Linked DNA regions of Homo sapiens: region 1 is linked to region 2. The links are contacts of gene promoters, found by promoter capture Hi-C in blood cells and fetal thymus (Javierre and others, 2016). All regions are on one chromosome and are shown on one strand. The core of a region is centred on a gene start or on the middle of the fragment in contact, and the rest is flanking DNA. Distances in the headings are between cores, read along the strand shown.

Evidence for each region. Contacts are between HindIII fragments. The CHiCAGO score rates a contact against its expected background, and 5 or more counts as called.
Region 1: a contact is called between a fragment that was not itself captured here and the fragment with the promoter of RHO in region 2, in 2 of 17 cell types (M2 macrophages and M1 macrophages). The highest score is 8.1, in M2 macrophages.

What each region holds. Positions count from the first base shown.
Region 1 is chr3:129,485,087-129,492,250 of GRCh38, reverse strand. It overlaps IFT122 (intraflagellar transport 122), which reads right to left. Exons shown (of 30, transcript NM_052989.3): 16 at 3,854-3,994; 17 at 57-110. Among named protein-coding and RNA genes, the nearest start is that of RHO, 40 kb to the left of the region's middle. RefSeq lists silencers at 1,889-1,958, 2,365-2,573 and an enhancer at 1,671-1,965. The HindIII fragment of the contact is 8,041 bases long and covers 1-5,628 here.
Region 2 is chr3:129,522,390-129,530,218 of GRCh38, reverse strand. RHO (rhodopsin) reads right to left here and starts at 1,580. Exons shown (of 5, transcript NM_000539.3): 1 at 1,125-1,580. The coding sequence starts at 1,485. RefSeq lists enhancers at 178-903, 904-1,629 and a silencer at 3,827-4,027. The HindIII fragment of the contact is 8,320 bases long and covers 1-3,149 here.

The DNA of each region.
Region 1 (7,164 bases), core at 359-2,858, 38 kb after region 2:
TAAAACAGGAACCCCAAGTATGCCTTCTTGAGAAGGAAAAATGCTTCATCTTTTACCTCAATGCTGCTGATGAGCTCTAAATATCGGAGGTCTTGTACTCTGATGAAGGCCTGTGGCGAAGAAATAAAGAATAAAATAAGCTGTCTTCTTGGCTTCAAAAGTGGGTGATTGGCTAGGGGTGGGAAGTCAAGCTCTATCTAGACAGTGAGCCACAGAGGAGAGGAAGGGAGCAAGCACAGATTAATCATCGTGCGTGCAGGAGGTTATACCACCCAGCGAGGCATGGCTTTATCCATGGGATTGGACCATGTAAAGAACAGCAAAGACATCCCAGTTGCATCAGTCATTTTGAGATCAGGTAAAACAAAACCGTGATGCCACAGTCTGTGGCGGTGCCTCCTTGGGAGACTCTAGACCCAAAGAAGAACAAGCCGGTCTGACCCTCTGGGGGGTCACGCAGCATCACAGCAGGAGAGGATGAGATGCATGGACTGATGAGAGACTGCCTATACATCTTGGCAACATGGGTAGAATGCAGGGGACAGCTATGCCTACCCAGTGGTGCCACAGACACAGGGGACCCAGAGCCCCTGGTACCACAGAGGGAGCAGAGGAGGGGAAAGCTGAGAGGGTATAAAGACAGATTCTGGAAGAAGGTGGAGGGGTAGGGAATGAATCCCACCAAGTCTGTGGAAGGCAAACTCTTTATGTAAACCCTAAAATTGCAGCCCTTGCCTTGAACTCACAGTAAAGCCAGAGACTTTAACTCATGGACCTCTAGAAGTTTCTGAGGAACAAGCAGACTGGTGTTAGCTAAGCTAGTTTTGCTGCTTTCAGATTCTGCCCAGGGTTTGGAGGAGCACAAGCCACCAGGTCAGGCTGCTTTCAGGTGGCTTTGCTGTCACCATTTATTGCCCCATTCAAAATGGGCTGACCTGTGCCTAGAGGAGGCAGCAGCTCCAGAGCCCTTTGAACTGAACACGCAGAGCAATCCTGACCACTTGCAGCCTCTGCTCAGCAGCATGGCATCCTCCCTCCTGAAAAGACCTCGGGAGATGAGCAAGTCCCCGGCCTGCCTTGCAGGTGACCACAATGCAACTTTATCTTTTCATCCCACAGGACCAGGCTTCCTGTCAAGAGACTGAGGACCCAGGGAGAAACATGTCTCGGCCCCTGTCCCCCTCCACAATTCAGAGGTCCACATTCTAACAGGGAAAGCTGGTCAATTAAACAGATCATGACACCTCCCAGAGCTAAGAGCTCTCCAACTACGAACCACATGCCTGGAGAACACGGATGAATGGTCTGAGCATGAGCAGGGGTGGGAGGCAGCGTTAAGGGAGGCATCAGAGTCAGAACCTGGCAAACAAGTGTTTGTGAAGAGGAATTCGTAGAAAAGGGCAATGCGGGCATCACATGGGCCAAGGAACACAGGGCTAAGACTACCTGTGTCCCAAGCTGTAGGTCTTACACATCACCCTCTAGATCTGGGTTTCCTTAAAGCGCCTTGAGAGGGCAACCCTGCAAAGCCCAGCACAGTGGCCAAGAGGGAAAGGAGCATTCGAGGTCTGAGTCCTCGCTCTGAGCCTACTTCTCTGCTTCTGGGCTCCAACCATCTTCTTTGTGGAAAGGGGCCTGCTACTGACACCCTCTCAAGGGTCTTTCTAGCTGTAGCTCAGCTGTGCTAGTGTCTAGGATTTGCCCATTAATAAATCTGTTTCCGAGTTCCTTCAACCTGACACATTTTGCAGCGTCAGGGTGCCTGGTCAGAGTCACAAGGCCCCTGAATGAGCTCAGCAGAGGGAAGCCTGGGAATAGGGAGGAACCTGCAGCTCTGCTCAGGGTCTGGCGGGAGCTCAGCAGCTCTTCTCTGCCATCTAGTGGGGATGGCTGTCCATCTCTAGGAACCACTATATCCAAGCTGGTGAGCCTGAGTGCCTGGCACAGAGTAAAGAGGTGGGGTACTCGGGATTTAGATGAAATAGTAACATCCAGCCTATCTTCAATATCATGTGGCTTTTTCAAAACAGCATGTTGTACACAATAGATATATACCACATACACTTACTTTTCAACTATAGTAAATCTGGCTGGGTGTGGTGGTTTATACCTGTAATCCCAGCACTTTGGGAGGCTGAGGCAAGAAGACTGCTTGAGCCCAGGAGTTCAAGACCTGCCTGGGCAACACAGTGAGTCCCCGTCTCAATATTTAAACAAATATATAAAAATATATATATTTATAAAAATATCAGTAAACACTCATATTAAACCTTGTGGCTTTTTACAATCCTTTCTATTCTAGGGATTTGTCGTCTCCCTCCCTGCTGGCATTTCTGGGTGGGGCAGGAGAGGGAAGCTCCCTCCATAGAGATGCCTCCTCCCTCCTCTGAATTCTTTTTTTTTTTTTTTTTTAAGTCAGAGTCTTGCTCTATGGCCCAGGCTGGAGTGCAGTGGCACCATCTCGGCTCACTGCACGCTCCGCCTCCCAGGTTCACGCCATTCTCCTGCCTCAGCCTCCGGAGTAGCTGGGACTACAGGCGCCTGCCACCATGCCCGGCTAATTTTTTGTATTTTTAGTAGAGACGGGGTTTCACCGTGTTAGCCAGGATGGTCTCGATCTCCTGACCTTGTGATCCGCACACCTCGGCCTCCCAAAGTGCTAGGATTTACAGGCGTGAGCCACCGCGCCTGGCCCCTCCTCTGAATTCTTACAGCCTCCTCCATCTCCACTTTCCTACACTGAGGACATCTAAAAATATAATCTAGATCATTGTTACACAACGATCACTTCCCTTGTTTAGTAATGGCTAGCATCTGCACAACCATCCCTGATTTAAATTCCCCTTTACAACATCTCAGTTAAGCCTCATGACTGCAGCGGGCATTCTCACCACCCCCATTTCAGAACTGGGAGGACTGGGGCTCCAAGGAAAGTGGCTGGCCTGAGGTCCCAGAGCCCCTTATGTGACACAGCTCGTTCTCAGCCAGGCTTCTTAGTCCTGGTCTGGTCCAGTCTCCTCTCTTCATGCCTACAAGTCTTGATCTAACCCAAGGCGGGCATCACGTCCCTCTTTGCCACTCCTTCAATGTCAGCCCGGGAATATGGACAAAATGAGCAGCTCATTAATTGACTGTGGGGAGATAAAGAGGGAAGGGGTAGGGGAGTGGAGGTTGGAAGCCATTCCTTCCTCCATCTGAGGTTCTAGATGGAAACACAGCTCAGGAACATACCTGGGCTTTTCCTTATGTGCAGAGAGGGGTCAGATGTTTTCAGCCATCTCTCTAGCTTTCATAGACTAGGCCAGGAAAGGACACAACGAATCAAGTCCATGAATCCCGCCATGAAGGTACGTGGGAAGTGCCCACATTGCTGTCAGAATCAGAGACCTTGACCATCTCTCCCACCTTAGTTGGCAGATGCTAAGAAAAGCAGCATTGTGTGCAGCATCATGGCCAGTGACTACACCGATAATAAAAGCCGCCATTTACGGAGTGCCTGTGATGTGCCAGGCTACTAGTCAGGTGCTTCCCACAGAGAACAGCTAATAAGAGTGACAGCCAGAATCTGACATGCTGCTCCTGGGTCAGGCTTTACAGGCATCCTCCCATTTGATCCTCACAGCTTTGTGAGGATGGGGCCTGTCATCATCCTACGTCTATAGAGAAGCAATCTTAGAAAGGGTGTCACCTACCCAGGCCCACAGTGAGGAAGTGGCTAAGATACAAGCCCAGGTCAGCCTAACTCCAGAGACTGCTGCAGTCTATGGCCTCTCCGTGCCACCTGGGTCCCCATCTGCCTTCTTAAGGGACCCCACAAGGACCAAACTCCAGCTCCTGCTGGCTAGATGCTTACCTTCTTTGCTGTTTCAAAATCTAAACCTTCTAGCGCTTCCATGGCCAGTTCACGCCAATCAGTGTCTGTGACACCCAAGCAAGCAATCTGGTAGGCTTCCTTGAACAGTTTCCTATCCAGGTACTGGTACATGGGAGCGGACTGCAGGATTTCATCAAGGGAAAAAAAGAAGACTGTTTTCAGAGCCATGGAAAGAACCAGATGCATACAGAGCCTGCCTCCAGATGCGTGGGATGATTACCCATGCCTGGGGAGCAGCCCTGCAGCCGCCAATCAGCACCCTGCCCAGCCTGCCCAGCCCACCCTGTGTGCTCCATCCTGCACCTCTCTCATGACTGGGCTACTGTGCTCCACAGCACAAACTCTCTGCCCATCCTCCCCTCCTTCCCACCTACAGGCCTGCCTCGCCATAGGATGTCACCCTCACCTGGAATGCCTTTGCCCCTCCCCACTCTGCCTCTGGAAAATACCTATTTGGCTTTCAAGGCCCTGTTGAAATGTCACCTCTTCTGCAGAGTCCTCCCAAGCCCCTCAAGCCCCCACCCCAGGGGAAAGAGTCTCAGCTTCCTCTGCCCTTTGTCCAGATCGCAGGTTGTGCCGCAGTTACAGGCCTGTTCCCACAGCAAAGCCGTGCACAGCCGTGGGCAGTGGTGGGTTGTATCGGCCTCCCTCAGCAGAACCCCAGTCTACGTTTGCTGACACAATGAATGAGTTCGTGGGAGGAAGCGGTCTGGAATGGCCTCTTCTTCCAGGGACTGAGTCCAAGAAAGGTAAGTGATTTGCTCCAAGTTACCCTGGAAGCCTCTGGAAACAGCTCTCCTGATCCCTGCCCTGGGGACAGATGCCCTCCTACAAGATGGGGTTGCCTTGCTGTGAGTGCCCATGAATAGTTCCTAACGACTTCTCTTTCTTAGGTTTATAAAAGGCTTTTGGCTGTCCCCACAGTCCTGTGCAGTAGGTATTATTTCTCCCTGGCTACAGCCCAGGAGACCGAGACTCAGAGAGGACAAATGACCTGTCCCAGCAAATAGCTGGCAATAGCCAGAGGTGACTGGACTCCAGGTTCTGTGCCCCTTCCTGCCACATGTATGCACGCGTGTATATGTGCATATGTGCGTGCAGGCCTGAGAATGAGTCTTGAGTTGGGCCATGACATCTTTAACAAGGAAAGGCCTTGCCCTTGTTTTAGGCCAGCCAGTGTGCTTCAGTGGCCTGCATCTCTCCTGGCTTCCTGGGCAGGGAAGAGAAATCAGCCAGGACCTCTGTGCTAATGGTTCCCAAATGTGGAGCTTGAAGTATTGTTTTCTCCATTTGGGGCTTTTGTCTGTCTTTGAAATTTCCAGTCCCATTTTTTAGCTTTAGAATTGAAGGAATTTTTTTTATTTTGAGTCTGTCTACTCTCAGAGCAAAACATGGCTGCTTCCAAGTGCTTATCTTTTCCACCATGCCATCTCTCCTCATTGGCACATTAAATGCTCCCTTTAGCGGGGCAGCAGGCATAGGCTACGGAGCAGGTGACCTAGAACCCAGGCCAGGCTCAGCCACATCCTAGGCTGGTGACTTTTTGGGTAAATCCATTAACTTCTGTTTAGATGTCCTGCCCAGCTCAGGCTACCATGGGCAAAGGAGAGATGTGCTCCAAAAATAATGAAGCACTGGGCAAAATGCAGGCATGATCATTACCTTCACTGTATTTTCTCAGCACCAGCTCCTCACCATCTCCCAGGCTCTCCAGTCTTGTTCCTACCCCCACCTTTCCCTTTGTTTGAAAAGCTTCCCTGCTCCACTCTTCCTTTCCAGACCTCTCAGGGCTCAGATCAAGTTTCACCATCTCCTGGAAGCTTTCTCAAACTCCTGAAAGCTTTTCTTAAAGCACACAATGAGCTTTCCTTTCTAAAGTCCGTCAGTAAGTACAGCCTGTTGCAATTTAGTTGTGTTTTGTGGTTTTTGCTATTTTATGAGTCAGTAATAAGGAGAAATAATAATAGAAATTTGGCTTGACGAAACCTGAAAGATGGGTATAATTAACCCCATTTCACAGAAAAGAAATGAGGCCCCAAAGAGTGAAATGAGTTGCTCTAGTTACAGCTGCTTGAGATGGCAGAGTCAGGACTGAAAGCTGGTGCTCCTTCCCCGAACCACACCAACTGCTTGCCATGCTGACTGCCCCGTGAGTGGGACAGGCACTCAGGCAGGCATATCACAGCTGAGCATATGATGGATGGCTAACACTTGGACTTACTTGGGAGGCACAATTTGAGTGGAGTTTTAAAAATAGACCCCACTGAACAAATACTCTCTGAGCTATACTTTATCTTGCTGTTGGATTTCAAACATGAAGTCACCACCGCCTTGAGAAGCCCTCCTAGGGCTCGTTGTCCTACTTGGCAGCCCTGACAAACCAGTTCTTGCACAAGACAATGTAAATTTCGAAAGGCAACCAAAAATTCCAAGACTGGGTCTGATGCTTTCTCCCTCCTCTCTGGGCCAAAACCACAGGATGGCCGGAGGCAGAGGCGACAGATGAACAGCCTTTGTCTTGAGAATGTGTTTCCTAACCCTTGGCAGTCCTGACCCGCTGCGTCAGCAGGATGGCCTTGGTGCAGTCAGCAAGACTTTGCTGCTGAATCTTAAAGTCCTGGCAGAGGAAGCCCCAGGCTGCCCCTCTGGCTCCTCTTGGCCGGCCACAGTCAGAGAGCAGCAAACTGCATTTATTTTTGAGGTCAGGATGGCAATCTTGGGAGAAAACCTTTTAATAAAATAAGCAGAGCTAGTTTGGGGCAATTGAGGGAGATGAGTTCCTGGTGGATGTGGTGCGTGGGTTTGTAATGGGGCAGACAAGGATGACGAGGACACAGTCCAGGAGAAGCTGTTCGTGCCCCTCGTCCTGCTGCCACTTCCACCCACCTCATTCCCTTCTTCCTCTTGCTTTCTGGTCTTTTTCCTCAGATCTGAATTCCACTAACATTTCTTGAATAGCTGATCTGTGTCAGGCATGGATGATGGGCATTTCCCCAGTAAGTCTTGCAGTCATGAGTTTCGAGGGTATCATCAACTTAGAAGAAGTGGGCTCTAGCCTGAAGCTGAGTTGTATGGGGAAAACAGACTGACAGAGCCTAGCGGAAGGGAAACCTGGAAATTTCCCTAAAAGTCTTTCAAAGGTACACGTGCTTTGACCCAGCAATTTCATTTCTAGGAATTTATGCCAAGGCGCCAAGTTGGGACAGGTGCAAGGACCTAGCTAGAAAGATGCCTGCTATTTACAATAATACAAAAAAGCTATAAGCAGCAAACATGTCCAGTAGGACTGG
Region 2 (7,829 bases), core at 331-2,830:
ACAGTGAAAGGGACAATATTTGTAAACTGGGACTGACCCTGCAGAGAACAACCACCCGTAAGTGGCACACCCACCTTCTGGCCAGAACTGAGTGATCTGTGATTATTGAATGCAACAAACACCCAACAATGGCCAGAGATTCCCTGAGAATGGGACCGAGGCAGCAGCCTGGACATGGGGGAGACAGGGCAAGGCTGGCAGAGAGACGCTTGTGGCTGGCGGTAAGCTCTCCCCGTCACCCAGCTTTGCAATGGCTGCTTCTAGCGTCTCCTCCTGCATCTCAGCAGAGATATTCCTGGATCACAGCCAGGAGACCTAGGCTCTTGTTGCTGCCTGGCCACATCCCTAAATGAGTCTCTTCCCCTCTCCCTGCCTCAGTTTTCCTCTCTGTTAAGTGGGATCTGTTATCCCTGCAGCACCCCATCTGTTTTCCTGTTAAATGCAAGACATTATTCTAAAGCAAAAAGGAACTGCTTCAGAGCGGCTGCTTGCGGTTCTCAACACCAGGAGACTTGGAACGCGGCAGGGAGGCTGGAGGGGCACCTGAGGACAGGGGCTGAGAGGGGAGGCAGAGGATGCCAGAGGGGACCGAGCCCATTGCCCAGCACAGGGAAGACCCAATGACTGGAGAATGGAAAATCCACTTCCCACCCTGAGCTTGGGCCCCCAGAGAGGAGGGGTCTGGCTTGCCCAGCTCTCCCTCAGTGCCCAGCCTGGGTCTGACTCAGCACAGCTGCTCCAAGGGAAACAGAGGCTTGGTGCTGCAAACATGGCCCGAGATAGATGCGGGCTTCCAACTCAACTCTGCACCCGTCCCTGTGTGACGCCCCAGCAGGGCGCTTGACTTCTTTGAGCCTCAGCTCAGTTTTCTTGCTGTGAAATTAGACAAGCGCATATTGCTCCAAATAAGATCAAGGCAGTGTTCAGTGCCAGCCCTGCACAAACAGCAGCCCGGCTATCACCATGAATGGTGTTTGTTGACTGAATATATGAGGGCTTTGGATAACATTGACAGGACAGGAGAAGGGAGAAGGCCTCTCAGCCACCACCGCCAAGCCCGGGACTCTCCCAGACCCCTCCATGCTCCCGGGCTCCTGCACACCCCACCCACACCCGGCTCATACCGCCCAGGGTGGCAAAGAAGCCCTCCAAATTGCATCCTGTGGGCCCGAAGACGAAGTATCCATGCAGAGAGGTGTAGAGGGTGCTGGTGAAGCCACCTAGGACCATGAAGAGGTCAGCCACGGCTAGGTTGAGCAGGATGTAGTTGAGAGGCGTGCGCAGCTTCTTGTGCTGGACGGTGACGTAGAGCGTGAGGAAGTTGATGGGGAAGCCCAGCACGATCAGCAGAAACATGTAGGCGGCCAGCATGGAGAACTGCCATGGCTCAGCCAGGTAGTACTGTGGGTACTCGAAGGGGCTGCGTACCACACCCGTCGCATTGGAGAAGGGCACGTAGAAGTTAGGGCCTTCTGTGCCATTCATGGCTGTGGCCCTTGTGGCTGACCCGTGGCTGCTCCCACCCAAGAATGCTGCGAAGGCCTGAGCTCAGCCACTCAGGGCTCCAGCTGGATGACTCTGGGTTCTGACCCCCCCAGACCCTTATAAAGTGACCTCCCCCTCCTAAGCTCCTGGCTGAATCAGCATCTGGGAGATTGGGGGTGTTCATAATCATATTAATCCCCGCTGCAGAAACTGAGGGCCTAATTGGCTTCTAAGAGGGGCCAAGGTGACACTAGGAGGAAGCCTGAGGTCAGGGAGGAGAGGTACTCAGGATCCAGGAAAAGGGAGGAGAAGGTCCCCTAACTTCTGCATGACTTGTCTGTCCCAAGGTCCCAGCTCAGTCTGGTGGCCTGGGTTTGAAATAGGGACCATGGGCCTCTGTGCTATGTCCTCTGGACAGCTAGAGACTTTCTGGTTTATTCTCCCAGTCTCTCATCTCGTCACACAGCCCCTTACCTGTTCGTTCCCCCACAAGTTACCTCTGGAGTCATCCAGTCCCCACACTCCTCTGACAGGAGGAGCTCCATGAGGGCAGGGGCTGCAACCTGCAGCTTCCGTTTCTGGTGCCAGACACATAGCCTAGGGCCCAGGAGCCCAATCCTTGTTGCATGGAATTGGAATTCACTCTCTTGTTCGTTCATTAAACATTTATTTGCAGGCCCCTGGGAATACAAAGATGGAAAGAAACAGCCCTGCCCAGAGGAGCTCAGGGGCTGAGGAGGACTCAAATGTGGGAAGAAGCAGATTCCGTCCAGGGTGGCTGTGAGGTTGTGGAGACAGGGCCTGACTGCCTGGGGGTTGCAGTCTGGGAGGCCATGTTTGGGCCTTTGAGAGAAGGAGCAGTTTGCCAGGTGGCTAGGTGGGGAAGATCTGGGCTGGGGGCAGTTGTAATGGGTCTTGAACGCTAGGCCGGGGAACCTGGCTTTATCCAGAGGAAAGTGAGCAGTGGCTTGGGCAGATCACTGGTGTAGAAAGGTGACTCAAATGCCCCCAAAGATGGAGTGGAGGGAGGGAGGATGGAGGGGGCTACCAGAGCAGGGGAGGGGCAGAACCCTTCAGGGGACTCCAGTCTGAAGGGGAGGCTGGCCCTGGAGGCAGCAGACAGGGCACTGTTGGGGGAGGCCTAATCAGCCACGAGGGCCTCAAATGCCATGTACCAGGTGGCCCCACGAGGGCCGATTCCAGAATAGCAGGATGTACCGTGAGAAAGAAAGTAGTCAGAGCCTTGGGGGCAGATGACTGGGGGAAAATGGAGGCCAACACTGGCAGGTCCCCCTCTCCCCGTCGTCCAAGCAACATGATGACACCTCCCAGGAATGAAGTGGGGTGTCTGGGGCGGCCTGTGCAAGTGCTGAGAGTGCCCGACGTGCGGCCGCTCAGTGACCACTGTCCAGCCAACATGTGTATTGAGCACCTACTGTGGCCCAGACAAGGTGCTTGGTCCTTGGGGACACACAGGGTACACGAAAGAGCAAGCTCCTGCTCACAAGAAGCCAGTGTTTTTGTGGGGTGAGGGGGCACAGGGACCACAAACAAATAGAAGAGCGAATAACAGTAGGGACAGTTCAGTCGCAGCCACTCCCAACACAGGAGGCTTCTCTGAGAAGCTGGAGCTTGAGCTGAGAACGGAACAACAGGAGGAAGCTTCAGGGGAAGGACATCCAGGCGGAAGGACCCCTGAGAGTGCAAAGCCCTGATGCCTGGGAAATATCCCTTAATCTCTCTCTCACTGTCTCTCTTCCCACCCAGGATTCCCAGATCTGTCTGCTCAGAAGAGTGCCCCCTTCCCTGCAGCCCACCTGGGCTCCAGCCCCCTACCTGGCCTGGGTGGTGTTGGGTCTAACAGCGTTTGGCACACGTGGCAGGGCTAAGGCAGGGCGGGTGGGATGGGGCCTCTCGTAGTTTAAGGCGCTTGGCCTGGTGATTATGCCCAACGCTAATGAGGTTAAGGTGAGGGTTTGATTCTGACGTGGACCCTCATGGCCAGAAGGAGGGTGTCCTGGATGCCTTGGGTCAAGACTGACCCACAACTGGCCCCTCCCTGGCCGGGCTGAGCCCCCATCCCACACAGCTTAGCAGTACCTCAGCATCTTGCTTTTTGCATAGTGCTTCTGACAGCATGGAAGCTTTTTATTTGTGTTTTGTGCCCGTCTCCCTGCCTGTAACATGAGTCCACAAGGGTAAGCCTGGGTCTGTCTTGCTCACAACAGGGTTCCCAGAGACCAGCATGGTGCTTGGCCTGTAGTGGAAAGAGGTGGGATGATGTCTGTTTTGTTCACTGATGTGTCTCCAGGGCCTGGCACCTAGAAGGTGCTCCTGAATATTTGTTGAATGAACGAGTGAGTGGGGGAATGGACCTAGATGATCTCAGTACTTCCCCTCTCTGTCTCAGGTTCCTCCTTTGTGAGTTTCACAATTGCAACCTCATGGAGCCCTGGTGATGGGGAACTAACAGCCATCACTGAGGTGACAGTGCTCTTTATTCTGTAAAGCTTGACGAAGAAAAAAAAAGTTTTGAGACAAGGTCTCTGTCGCCCAGGCTGGAGTGCAGTGCCACAATCATAGCTCACTGTAGCCTCTGCCTCCTGGGCTCAAGCGATCCTCTCACCTCAGCCTCCTGAGTAGCTGGGACCACAAGTGCACACCACTAGTTTTTGTATTTTTTGTAGGGGTGGAGTCTCGCTATGTTGCCCAGGCTGGTCCTGAACTCCTGGCTCAAGCGATCCACCCTCCTCGGCCTCCCAAAGTGCCAGGATTATAGGAGTGAACCACCGTGTCCGGCCCAAGAAATTTTTTTTTAAACAAAAAATGCTCTTTGTTCAGGAAAACAGACTCATAGTGAGCTGGAAGGGTCATTCGAAGTCACCTACTCTGACCATCTCTGCTATATCCATTTTGCAGATGAAAAGACTGAGGCCTAGCTCTGCAGAGTTGCTCAGGTCCCGTTACAAATCAGTGACAGCCTGGGCTATAACCCACACAGTCAACTGGGCTTCCTGGGGTATCAGCTTCCCAAACCTGGCTATGCCTCCCTCCCCTCATCAAAGATAGCTCTCAGGAAAGACCAGCCAGCCATTCACACCATGGTATAAATGACTAAAGAAAGGTTTAGCTGGGGTAATGGAAAGGCCCTAGACTGAGTCACACAGGCCTGGCGTGGGGCAGTGGAAGCCTCGAGGAGAGGAGGCTGGATTCTAGCTGGTCTTTGAGTCACCATGGTAGTCCTGCTTCCTTCCCCTCTCTGGGCCTCAGTTTGCTCAGACGAGGAAGCCTCAGTGTGGGGTAGGGGCACACCCATCTATACAGTAAACCTCACCTGCTTTCTCCATGAGAGCCTGGTTCGTGAATCTTTAGACCCTATGGCCTTGGTTTCACTGTTCTCCCTCATTGGGCAAGGCTCTTTTCCACCCACCCTTACATCTGGACTGAGGCTACACAGCCTGGGTGCAGCCAGCTACCCCGCCCTCCCGAGAGTGTGCTTCGGTTCTCCACTCTGTAAAATGGGAATGATAATAGTGCCTACCTAATAGGATTATTGGGAGTGCTTGTAAGTGATCAATATATTTGTTGCTGACAGTATTAATCTCTTCCTGAGTCTCCTTCAGGTCTCCGCTCACACTCATGTCCTTGGAGAGACCACCCCTGACCATCCTACACACCAGGCACCCCCACCAGGTTTAGCTGTTTTGAGACAGGGTCTCACTCTGTCACCCAAGCTGGAGTGCAGTGGTGTGATCTTGGCTCACTGCAACCTCCTCTTCCTGGGTTCAAGCGATTCTCCTGCCTTAGCCTCCCAAGTAACCAGGACTACAGGCATGTACTGCCATGCCTGGCTAATTTTTATATTTTTAGTACAGACAGGATTTTGCCATGTTAGCCAGGCTGGTCTCTAACTCCTGATCTCAAGTGATCCATCCGCCTCGGCCTCCCAAAGTGCTGGGGTTACAGGCGTGAGCCACCACACCTGGCCTATTGTTTTTTGAGACAGGGTATCACTCTGTGACTCAGGTTGGAGTGCAGCGGCATGATCATGGCTCACTGCAGCCTCAACCTCCTGGGCTCAAGCGGTCCACCACCTCAACCCCTGAGTAGCTGGGACCATTGGTGTGTGCCACCATGCCTGGCTAATTTATTTTCATTTTTGTAGAGTTGGGCTCTCCCTATATTGTCCAAGCTGTTCTCTAACTCCCAGGCTCAAGTGATCCTCCTGCCTTGGGAGCCACTTGGGAGGCTGTAATCTCAGCCTCCCAAAGTGCTGAGATTATAGGTGTGAGCAACCACACCCAGCCATGTTCAGTTTTTACACAGTCATTACCATCAGCGACTATCTCATTTGTCTTCTTAAAACAATTTTTAAATGTTTTTTAGAGATGAGTCTTGCTCTGTTGCCCAGGCTGGAGTGCAGTGGCGCAATCATAGCTTACTGCAGCCTTGAATTCCTGTCCTAGGCTCAAGTGATCCTCCTACCTCAGCATCCCGAGTAACTGGGTCTACAGGCATGCCACCACACCTGGCCTCATTTGTCTACTTATTGACTGACTTCCCATCTATTTCTAGAATGCAGGACCAGCCTGGCCTGTTCATCGCTGCCTCTGAGCTCACAACCCATAGGAGGTGTTCAATAAACATTTGTTGAATGAATGAACAACTCCTCCTGCCCCCTATGAAGAGGGTCTAACTCCCCACTGACCACTGAGGAATCTGGGGTATGCAGGGTCAAAGTTCCTCTGCAGAGCTGGGATTTGAACACAGGCCTGGCCAGCACCCACACCTTGTGTCGGGCAGTCCAGAGAAACCCATGGTGTGGGTGTTGGCCAAGCTGGCATGTGGGGGGCTTTCTAAGCCAAGATGGCTGGATGCAGCCATCTTGGGGCACCCGAGTCCCAGCCCTCGGGAGCCCGGCTAGGGGCTTTGCCTTTGCCTCGGTGGATTAGGGGCTTAGCTTGCAGGGCACAAATCGCTCTTCAGCCTCTGCAAGAGAGGAGCTGCTGTGAGAGGAGCTGCTAGGTCAGCATCCTTCTCCTCCTTCTCCTCCTCCTCCTCCTCTTCCTTGGCTTTCTTTCTCCTGGTCCCCCACATGGCTCAGCCCCACCAGGCTGCGTCACCAAGGCTACATGAGGCCTTCAGCGGTACTGAGAGCATCAAGGGGGAATAAGGGAGGGAGAAAGACCAGCTCTCATTCCCTCCTTCCTCTTTCTCTTTTCTACCCTAGCATTTGCCAAACTCCTTATATGCGCCAGGCCCTGGGGACGCTGAGGTGGATCCCACATGGTTCCTGCTTTCAAGGGGCTCCCAGTCTCAGGGGGTACTGATCGGAAACTAAACATGAGAGATGAGCATTTTCTCCCAGTCCCAGTGCTGTGGGAGCCCAGAGGAGCAAAAGGTGGACCAGGAGGGTCAAAAGAGTCTCCCAAGCAGGGCAGGTAGGGAGGGCCAGCTGGGCCTGGAGGTGCTGGGCCCCCCAGGGTGGCGTGCTGGGGATAGAGGGCAGGCCTAGGGGTCTGGGTGTTGGCTGAATTGCATGGGCAGCTACTGCGGGTGGCAAGCAGGGAGGGCCATGACGAGGTCTCCATACCAGGCCAGTGTTCTGGATCTGCAGGGGGAGAATCAGGGAGGCTCGGGGTAAGCACCCTGCCCAGTGGTGGCCTCTGCTGTGGGCACACAGACTCCAAGCCAGGGAAGAGACACAGAGCGACCTTGGAGGAGGGGCCTCTGCCCACCTGTGTGACAGCCACCAGGGGCTCCTAGCTTCACAGCCTTGCTGGGGACAGATGGGAAACCAAGGCCCGGGGACCTCCAGCTGCCTGAGGTGCGTCTCCAGTCAGGTCCACCTGAGGCTGCTCAGTCTACCTCTCCCTTACTTCCTCCTTCCAAGAACATGGGCACAATGTTGAGCACTTGGAGATGAGAGATCAGGACCAGTCCCAGTCAGATGGGGTCTCCCTATATTGTCTGAGCTGGTCTCTAACTCCCGGCTCAAGCGATCCTCCTGCCTTGGCCTCCCAAAGTGCTGAGATTACAGGTGTGAGCGACCACACCCAGCCATGTTCAGTTTTTACACAGCCATTACGATCAACAGTTATCTCATTTGTCTTCTTAAAACAATTTTTAAATGTTGTTTAGAGATGAATGTTGCTCTGTTGCCCAGGCTGGAGTGCAGTGGTGCAATCATAGCTTACTGCAGCCTTGAATTCCTGTCCTTGGCTCAATTGATCCTTCCACCTCAGCCTCCTGAGTAGTTGGGACTACAGGCTAAAGGCCAGAATCACTGCCCCACCGTGCAGCCTTCAGCAGCTGCTCCTCTCTGGCCTCAGTGTCCTCTTAGT